Regions from separate parts of the Homo sapiens genome. Here region 1 is linked to region 2. The links are contacts of gene promoters, found by promoter capture Hi-C in blood cells and fetal thymus (Javierre and others, 2016). All regions are on one chromosome and are shown on one strand. The core of a region is centred on a gene start or on the middle of the fragment in contact, and the rest is flanking DNA. Distances in the headings are between cores, read along the strand shown.

Region 1 (5,151 bases), core at 2,198-4,697, 2.9 Mb after region 2:
CAGCCAAAGTCACCTTTTAAAAAGTAAGCAAACCAGAACATGTCACTTCTAACTTTAAATTCCCAATGACTTCCCATAACACATAGAATGAAATCTGTGGTTTGGTCCCTGCCTACTTCTCAGACCTGCACTCTCACCCTTGCTCATTGGGATCCAACTTGCTGGCTTTCTTGGTTCCTTGAACAAGCCGAGCTTAGTTTCACCTCAGACAGCTGAGCCTTTGCTGTTTCCATTCCACCTGCCTAGAGCACACTGTTCCCAGCATTTCACATAGCTGGCTCCCCTCCCCAGAGTCTCAGCCTGCAGTATCAATCCTCTTCTCCTTGCCCCAAACAAGATTTTTTAAATATTACCTATTCTATTTTATTCATAGCTCATTTCACTATATGAAATGATCTTGCTCATTTATTTGTTTATTTGTTTATGATCTGTGTGTCTGGCCTATAATGGAAGTTCCATGATGGCAAAGAGCTGGTCTACTTTATTCATTTCTGGATCCCCAACACATAGAGCTTATAGCTTAGTGTTGTGCCTGGCTCATGGCTCCATAATTATTTCTTAGTCAAATTTGGGTAAAAGGCAAAGAACAAAGGTACGACAAATGGAAGCGAAGAGAAGAGATATCTGAAAGAAGTATAGTAGAGAAAGTGGGTAGACTTAATTATTGAGTGTTGGGTGCCAATGGAAAGGGAGGGATCAGATGATGGATTTTCACTTGGACTGAGAAACCTGTGATGCTCTTAACACAGAAGGAGAACTTGGAGAAATGAAAAAGATGAGAGTGGAAAACAGATATTTAGCTTAGGACTCGAGTGTAAGGTGCTGGTAGATCTCTGTAAAAATGCCCAGCAGGTGTATGGAAGTTGAGAAGAAAGCAAGGCCAAGCATTTAGGTGTTACAGTCATTTGCATACAGTGAAGATGGTTCACCGAGACTGAATTAGTCAACAAGGGGGAATATTTAGGAAGAAAGAAGAGAACATTAAAAATGTGCAGACTTTCACTCAGATATCCTTGTATATAAAGCACCATGCTGGGACAAGTGACATCTAACAAATGAGGAACAAGCTCTGGAGCTTATGGGGCCAGAGATGGTGACACTGATAACTTGTCAAGTAGAAAATGTGTTATCCATGCGGGAAACATTACAACACTGCCGTATGGTGCTCTTTGACTTATCCAAACCACCTCTCAGTAGGAGGCTCTGCATCCTCAAGGGAGATTTATATGATTGCTCTGTTTCCTTCCCTTCACATCTGTAAGGGGTCCAGAGTAAGGATTGGTCAATGTTAGTGATGTGGCTCTACCCTGAGCTCTTGTGGAGCTAATAATTAGAACAGTTTGGGGAAGGAGAGAATTCATTTTTAAAAAGACACGAAGCAATGTGTTTGTAATAGCAAATGATACATTTGTTGAGCATTTACTATGGGCCAGTTAGTGCACTAAGCATTTAACATGCATTATTTATTTAGTTCTCACAAAACTCTGTATGGGAAGTACAATTATTACCCCTGTTGTACAGATGAGAAAACTGTGGCTCAGATGTATGTAACTTTTTCAGCTGGTAAACAATGGAGGTGGGATTCGACCCCAGGACTCTCTGATCCCAAAGCCCACCCTTTTAACCATGATGCTCTATTGCTTCTCTGTGCAAGAAATAATCATTTTTAGTACTTAAATTGTGTTTTGGTATTTTTTGTGAATACTATGAATTTGTGAATACTAGGTGAACTTAAGGAAAATTTTATTTGCAGTAATGAAAGGTGACCACAAATCCTTCAATGTTGTCATTTTGTGCTGATCAAAAGTAACTTGTTCTTTTATTAGATTTCCTTTGTGTCACACACTTGCCTTAAAGAACTGTTGCTTACACCGTCAGCTTCCCCAGACCCTCAGGATATCCTTAATTACAGGACTCCCTGTGTATCTGAAATAGAAATAGTGCTTGAAATCCTCCTCTACCACCATCCCCCAATTGTTAAACTATAGGCATACCCTGTTAGCATGGGGGAATCTCTTCCTGGAAATTATCACATTAACTACATTGATGCTATATGTGCCTTTGGCCCAAGATTTCTTCTATTTACCTTTCTTATCTTTCTGGGTTGCTGCAAGGCTTATGTTGTCCTTCAAAATCTCAAAGGATTTCTACCAGGCAACAAATGTCTGCTGATCTGGGTTTCTTAGACCACCTCCTTGGGGGCATCTGAGGTTGTTGCAGTGCAGCCTGCTTGCTACCATCCAGCACCTTTCATGATTTTTGCAGAATCTCCAGCACCGTTGCTTGGTCACCTTTTGTCAGCCATCTTGAGCTTCAGTGTTCACTGGCACACAAGGAACCACAGAAAGAGGGAGCTGGTGGAGTCAACAAATGGAGAGGGAAGGGCCACTCAAATGGCTCTTAGTCTTCACTGGCTGAGAACCAAATACAGATTAGCTGTACGGTAGAGTGCTGCAACGGACTTACATTTATATACACATATAAAATATTTCTGAGATCATCAGCACTCTAATGAATCAGCCCTGTCTGGAACAGCTCTAAATGAATTCTAAATGAGTGCCTCTCTGATTTCATACCGAGTAAATGTATAGTAATGCAAAGTGGCACTTTCTTTAGTTCATCAATAATTTATTAATGGGCACTTTGTTCTAGGCATGATGTTTCTTAGAGTTTCAAAAAATGACTTTGCTTTTGGTTGCTCTGTTGCTCTCATAGAACTTTTTCCTCTTCTCTTAACAGCAGTCATCACTTTCTCCTGTGTGCCAGTTGTCTCCAAGTCAGACACAGAGTGTTTTCCCCTATTGGATTATAAGCTTAGTGAAGGTAACACTCATGTTTGATTCACTATTACATTCTCTACAAAGCCTAACATAGTTCCTTGTACAAATAGATACACATAAATATTTGAGTAAATGAATGATAATAAGAGACATGGCCAAAACATTTTAAAGGAGCTCAAAACGTATTTTGCTGGACTCCAGCAATCTTAGCTGTCATTACTATGTGGGGCTCTAGGGAAGGACTCTATGTCGGCTCTGATTGGCCAGTGGCTCTGCAGGTGATCTTATTTTTTTGGAGGGAAGCGAGTTTTTACTATTGTGAAGCACTTTTATTATTGTCAGTGCCTCACAATAATAAAACTCCATCAGTCACTTCCATTGGGCAGTTACTTTTTCTTTCTTTACCCTTATAGGTATAAATGACCTCGGACCAAATGGCAATAAAAGGAAGGTATTTTATTACTGTCTTTGGGGCAAATAAAACATTTATTATTTCTCCATCCCTAGCCCTTTCATCTAATTTTTAATCTTAATTTATAATTGTATTATATGTCCTATCCAGGAGTAATTGCAGCTTCTATGTCCTGTATTATGGCACATCAACAACACAGATGTATGTAACTACTCTCAAGACCTCATTTAAATATATGAAAAATTCAAGAGATTGTTCAAGGGACACCAGGTTGAATCCAGGTTCTATCAGATACATAAATCTTTTTTTGTGTCACTCCATTTGTTCATAGGCATTCTTTTTCCTGATGAATGGCAACCAGATTTATCAGGAAGATATACAACACTGGCTCCATTTCAAACAATTGTCTGATGTCCTCTGGCAGCTATTGGAACTGCACATTGCAATAGTACCAGCCTGTCATTTTGAGAGACCCCTAGGGTAATTGTGAGATGTGCTTGAGGCTCAGATCATTGTCTGTAAAGGTAACATGCAATTTCCTTGGCAGCAGCTGTGCAAATCTGCGTTGTACAGCAAAAAAGGTGATGTTTCCTACCTCATATTTGAATTATGTACTTTGGCCCTTTAAATCTTGTGCCCGGTATGTGTGTCTATGTAGGTCAATCATTATCAGGCATTCTAACTCCATAACCCATCCTACACACATGTTTGGAAAGAATGCAGAGTAACTGATGCATAAAATAGTTGGATTATAATTGTCTGGTACCTTGACAAAATACTTTTTCAGTAAATCATATTTTTCAAGCATATAAGCACTTTTTAAAAAATAAAAACTAGAATTTTATAGTTCTGATGTAAACTTTTATCCTAAAAGCAATGTCTTATTTCTATAAGCTTTTAAATTCTGGAACATAAACATATATATTACTTATCCTTTTGGATTCATGAAGGGTCAGTTCTCTGATGCTCTATTCATAAACATTTCACTTTTCACATTTGGAAACAACATTTCAGGAGTAAAGAAAATTAGATATGCTACACTCTTAGATCACATGCTTGTTATATCCAGATGAAACTTCTGGATACCACTGGCCTAATTGGTGGTTTATTCTTTCATTCATTCATTTGCTTGTTCATTCTCACAACCCTTTGACAAATATATATAGAGTGCTTACTCTGAGCCTGGCACTGAACTGCGATTGGGGATATAGTGGTGATCTATGCTGGATTGTGTTGGTGTTCTTTGTGATGCCAAACCATTGGGTACACAGTGAGCATATTTAATAAAAGAAACTATATGCCCAAATAATTTGGGTGTAGTGAAAAAGGACCTCGGAATCAGACAGGTTTGGTGTGATCCGCTGCTGGTTACTTAACCTCTTGGAGGCTCTTTTATTCTCCCCACAATGCTAACATTTCAGGATTGTTTTAGGAATTAAGATAGAAAATGTATGTGGAATTGCCTGGCAATTGGGTCAGTTAATTTTATTAATTTGTTTGGCCACAGGCACAGACATGAATCTTTTAAGAAACTGGTGTCAGTGAAATTTTGAAACTGGAAACTCTGATCTCTTACTCTTTCAGGAGTGTTTCTTTTAAAGGTTTCTCTTTTTTTCCATTCCAATTTGACCCCACATCGAAGACATGAATACCTCTTTGTAGTAGTGGGTTAAGAGAGGGTGGTTTTCGCAGTCAGCTTATTTCTCTCGGACCTGACCAAATGAAAAGATCCCTGCTAGCATGTAGAACTCAATGTCTGAGAAACAAACTGGAATCAACTACCTTATATTCCTAACCAACAGCTCCATCTGATATGACCCTATCAGCTTTGTAATTGTTTCATTGGGCCATTCTGAGGATTTCGCTCTTGGTTCTGCAATTAAATTAAACAAACATTAATTGAGCATCTCTCAGATGCCAGACCTTGTGCTACCTGCTTGAGGGTACCAAGAATGAAAA
Region 2 (5,634 bases), core at 1,664-4,163:
ATTTTCAAACCCAAGCTTCTCATAAACCAACCTGTCAAACAAATTGCATACAACTCTGCCTCTTTTATCAGTAACTGATTTTTCAAAAATAGCTTATGTTGTGAGGCATTAGATTATCTTTAGAGCATGAGAAATTTGGTACCAACTTCCTTTATGAGCAATTTTGATGAAATGACATTGATAAATGACCTCAGTTCTCAGAATATTAATTATAGGAACTCAACTGAAGAAAATTAGAAATATTAATCCAAACCAATGGAATGGTTCATTGGACTGCACTTGATAACCACTGCTTTGTTTCCAACATTTTATGCAGGTAGATTTAGCGCTTTTTAAAAAAGGCACAAAGGCCTTCATCTACAAAAATTAGGGTACTTTAAGAAAGCTCTGTATCTAATGTTTCCCAGCTTTCAAGTAGATCAAATAGAATTGGAATCTTAATATGATGCAAACATGACCATTCCCAATTTCTTTACCCCTGCTGTGTTCCTTTTTTTCATAAACCCTACTGCCTCTACCTGCAGAACGGGATCAAATTGCTTAGTCACTAAACTCCACCATAAAACCACCTCACAAGAGGACCTGACTCCCACCAACCATGAAAGAACAAGATACACTATAAAGTGAAAAACAGATGCTTTTATTTATTGTATTGGAAACAACTTAATAATTTGCATCTCTACATATAGAAAGCTGCTTTGAATAACTGGGAAAACAATTATTGCATAGGAAAACATATGCAAACTAGCATCATTGTCTCTAGACTAGGTTCTTCTTATTGATCTCACGTCATCACAAAGCAGCAACAGCAGCTTCTAGAAAATGGAGAAACAGTAAAGTCCTGCAATGAAGCTATAATTAAGGTTGAACCATACATTCCGCTAATCCTGCAACTTTCCTACAATCATTTTTCTGCCTATACAATCCTGCTTCTTATAGGATGAACACCTAGCAAAACAATATAAATTTGCTGAAAAACAAAATTACAAACAAATGAAAGAACTTAACAGAACACACAGCATTAAAAGGACTAGGAAGAGCAAGGTCTTAATACCCAGTACAATAAAGCCAAGAATTTTCTAATGCTGACCAGTCTGAAGACTGAAATTAAATATCAGTTCTTTTTACTTCTCTAGGAGTGATTCTAGCTCCTCTTGCAAAGAGCTGAGTTGCTCCTTTTCTCGGTCTTCCTTTTGTTTGAGCTCATCCAGTACAGCCTGAAATCTGTTCTTGAGAGCCAGATTTTCCACTTTCATGATGAGATCCTCTTGTCGTTTTGCCCTGTCCTGGGTCTCTTGGAGCTTGCCTTTCATGTTGTCAATCTGCTTCTGAATTCCCATAACCAGCTGATTGGTTCCTTCATTTTCCTGGTGCTGTTCATCTGATTCATTTAGCTTGTCCTGTAGCTGTCTCTCCAGATCTTCCTCCGTGTCAATGATGTTTATATCTTCTTCATCTTGATGCTGGGTCTCATCTTCATCCTCACTGCTGCTGCTGAGGTCATTGAATATCTCCCGAAGCTCATCATGTTCTAATGAGTCATGGCCCTGCCTGTGACCAGACATTCCTGGAGAAGAGATATCCAGGCCTTGATTTTCTGCCTCCTTTGTTTCATCTTCGGCAATTATTTCCCACCGAGTACTAACAGCTTCAGCATCTGTACTCAGCAATCGTTTCACTTCTTTTTCAACATCTGGAGATTCAATATATTTCTTCTTTGCTGTCTTCCGGAACCTTCTCTTCCTGACATTCTTTAGAGGCAGAGTAATTCCGTGGTTCCAGATAAACTTTTTCTCTTTGTCCTTATCCTTTTTCTTGCTTGCTTTAGGATCAGTGCTAGCAACTGGCTCCTCCACAGGAGGATAGAGATCACCATCAACTGTGGATACAAGCATCTGACAGATATCAGCTGTCTTGTAAAAAGTTTTTTTATCAATGGTTTTCAAGCTTTCCATAACACAGGGCAGGTCTACTAATTTTGAGGCCAATGGAACACGGTCCACTCTGACGATTCCATGACGCCCATCAGGATGTAACTCAATTGTCAGTCTGTCCTTGAGGTTGACATGACCAGACTGTACTGCCCTTCTCACAGTAGAGGCATATTCTGGAGGCAGACGTAAGATAAACTGGCTCTCCAGTTCGTGAGGAGCATCATCTTTGCTTTTACTCATCTTTATTTCCTTGTGATTCACTTCTCCAATAAATGCTGGTTACACTAAAAAGTTCCAGCTACTGCAATAGTTTAAAACACCAGTTTGCTATGAATTGAAATCTTTTAATTACAAGAAGTTCTCTGTAGATCAGCAGCTAAGCGTCTATTTTGCCTTAGTTTTTATTTAAGCTCCAAGTCTTTTCTCTAAATATGCTGTGACCGAATACCAGTCGTTAACACAAAGGCTTATTCACAGACTTAAGTTCATTAAATCAGATGCAATGCCAAGTCCCAACCTCTAGGTGCCGCTGCCGGACAACGCGGAGAGAGCTAGCTAGCTAGCTAGGGAACAGGAAAGCAAATGGCGGCTCCCCCGGAACGGTTTTCGGCCCAGAAAGCCCAGCAGAGATACTTTCAACTCACAAACTCTCCCGGAACAAAGACACTCAAAAAATCAGGGCTCAGCGAGCTCTCTTCGCCTCGGGTACTTACAATCCAGTGACGATTATAAGTTCAGTTTCACCGGGCCGGAGCGAAGGGAAGAGGAGGCCGCAAGGAGCCAAGCGGGAGAGAGCCGAGCGTCTCCTTGTCGTTTCCTTAATTCTTCCTGCCGCTTGGCAGAGTGATCCACTACCGATTACTGATGAAAGGGCCCGGGATGGGCAGCGCGAAATCTTGCCGAGAGGCGCAGCTCGCATCACCAGACCCCGCACCTCGCCGGCCCTCCGTCCGGGTCGCCTACCCAGCAAAAACGGAAGTGCTACGTCGCGACGCGGGGCGGGAGGCGGCTGTGAGTGACAGCCCCTCCGGGCGGAAGGGCGGAGCCCCAGCTAGCGCAGGCGCAATAGCGCAATTACGCTGCCCAGCGTGAAACTCATCTTTTCGCGAGAACTTGTTTTTCCGGGATGGAAATGACAGTGTTTCGGAAGAGCTGTTGGTTTCAAACTATTTAGAGCTTGGAAGTTCCAAGAAAGACACAGATTCGTCCCCCGCTAAGCCAGCACTTTTACGGGATCGCTGTGGGGCCGGATGGCTTCTAGACTTCCGGGTGATTCCGGGAGATGGGGGACGCCTTGCAGTAAGCGTCTTTGCTTCTGGAAACATCTCGGATGTTCCCTAGAGTCTAGCCTATCTGGTGCCAATACAAGAATGTGTAGCTACTATACAATGGATTTCAAAGTACCCAAATCAATGGAGTGAGGAGGACATGCAGCTTACTATATAAGTCTCTCTCTATATATATGTTTGTTTGTTTGTTTTGGAGATGGAGTCTCAGGCTGTCACCCAGGCTAGAGTGCAGTGGCACAATATTGGCTGACTGCAACCTCCACCTCTGGGGTTCAAGCGATTCTCCTGCTTCAGCCTCTTAAGTAGTTGGGATTACAGGCACGTTCCACTACCCCACCTAAGTTTTGTATTTTTAGTAGAGAAGGGGTTTCACCATGTTGGCCAGGCTGGTCTCGAACTCCTGACCTGAGGTGATCTGCCTGTCTTGGCCTCCCAAAGTACTAGGATTATAGGTGTGAGCCAGCGCGCATGGCCCAAAGTCTGTATTTTTAAATATAATTCCCTGTAGGGGAATTGTGCCTCTGGTTTTACTTGTGTTCTATAATACTTCTGGGGAAACAAGGGTGATTCCTTTTTATGTGCTTGATTTAGATGTAAATGTAAACAGAGAAGGAAGTGTTCTTTTGGACAGAATTGTCTGATAGACTGAGCATCTGGTTAAAGTAGATATAATTGAAGTATTGTTTCCTGTCTCTCATGTACAAGTAATTTTAAATTACTTTGACATTTTTTTTAACTCCACCTCTACTATTTTGCTGTTTTCTGCTTGTCTTTTCTATCAATAGTCAGGTATTCATCAACACATATTTTTAGTATTTTAACATAACTGGGTAACAGTTGGTACTTATTTCTATTTATTTCCATTTATTTTTAAAATATCTGGGAGAGCATCAAGGCCATTAATATTTCATTTCTATCCTCTAAAATATTAACAATTGCCCCTAAATTTAAGAGAATTCTCTTAAGATGTAATTAACATTTCCAAAATTCACTTTATTCTTGTATGATTGAAAGCTCCATGATAGTGATCTTCTTCTATCCTGGTCATTGTGTCCCAGTGCCTAGTACCAGAATGTGGGAGATACACAAAAAATATTTGCTAATTGAATGAAAAAACTTATCTGTCTAGAAAGATCATAGTCTCAAATCCTGTAGTGATTTCTGAGAGAAAATACATTCTTTGTCATTTTAAAATGAGATAGAGCCACTTTACATACATTTCCTTTCTAGTCAAGGACAATTCTAATTGTTATGAGGTGGGGAGGTTTACTAATAGTGTGTGTGAATGTGGTTTAGCTAGAATGAGATACTGTTGTGGGAGGAAATTAAAATGACCTGACGTTAGTTTGGTTTTTAATGTTAATTTTAAAAGAGAAAGTATGCCCTTCCAGATAACGGTAAATTATTTCTCTTTGCTTATAATGTGTTGAAGAATGTTAGCTGACTTACTTGTAATTTCCAGAATGATCTATTTCCTCTTTTTCAAAGATGAAGTTTTTTCTGTTACAGGCTTGAGCCACCTCGCCTGGCTGTGTTTTGTTTAACCATATACAATGTGAGGTCATTATACATGAAAATAATCCAAATATTACTCAGCATCTTCCCTATGAGTTTTATGATGCTCAAATATTCTTATCATAGAAGGTAACTTGAGATAAATTGTATGCAATTTTTCATTTTCCAAAATTACTGTGTATTTTAGTTTCTAAACCTTTCTTTACATGGAATATTGCCAGACATAGTTAAAAGGATTAACTGAGGTTTTCTTAATGTATCTAGCTCCTTCAGTCCTGAAATACATTTTCTGCTTTTGAGTTTAACACATTTTCTATATGCTGTTTTAGGGGAGGAAATTATATTGACCCTAAATATTTTTTTAAATTGGATTTATCAGTAGACATTAAGATAATCTGCTGGGTGCAGTGGCTCATGCCTGTAATACCAGCACTTTGGGAGGCCAAGGCGGATGGATCATCTGAGGTCAGGAGTTCGAGACCAGCCTGGCCAACATGGTGAAACCCCATTTCTACTAAAAATACAAAAAAAGGGCCAGGCGCCGTAGCTTACGCCTGTAATCCCAGCACTTTGGGAGGCCGAGGCGGGTGGATCACGAGGTCAGGAGATTGAGACCATCCTGGCTAACACGGTGAAATCCCGTCTCTACTAAAAATACAAAAAATTAGCCGAGTGCGGTGGCAGGCACCTGTAGTCCCAGCTGCTCGGGAGGCTGAGGCAGGAGAATGGCGTGAACCCAGGAGGCAGAGTTTGCAGTGAGCCGAGATCGCGCCACTGCACTCCAGCCTGGGCAATAGAGGGGACTCCTTCTCAAAAATAAAACAAAAACAAAAACAAAAACAAATTAGCCAGGCTTGGCGGCGGGCACCTGTAATCCCAGCTACTCGGGAGACTGA

Evidence for each region. The method cuts DNA at HindIII sites, captures the fragments that hold promoters and counts their contacts. A CHiCAGO score of 5 or more calls a contact.
Region 1: a contact is called between a fragment that was not itself captured here and the fragment with the promoter of TAF7 in region 2, in 1 of 17 cell types (naive CD8 T cells). The highest score is 5.4, in naive CD8 T cells.

Annotation. Positions count from the first base shown.
Region 1 is chr5:144,193,186-144,198,336 of GRCh38, forward strand. All of the region lies in intron 2 of KCTD16 (potassium channel tetramerization domain containing 16), which reads left to right. Among named protein-coding and RNA genes, the nearest start is that of KCTD16, 25 kb to the left of the region's middle. The HindIII fragment of the contact is 1,273 bases long and covers 2,812-4,084 here.
Region 2 is chr5:141,317,871-141,323,504 of GRCh38, forward strand. It overlaps TAF7 (TATA-box binding protein associated factor 7), which reads right to left and starts at 2,914. Exons shown (of 1, transcript NM_005642.3): 1 at 620-2,914. The coding sequence starts at 2,174. The coding sequence ends at 1,125. RefSeq lists enhancers at 2,443-2,642, 3,223-3,282, 3,293-3,442. The HindIII fragment of the contact is 5,333 bases long and covers 1,946-5,634 here.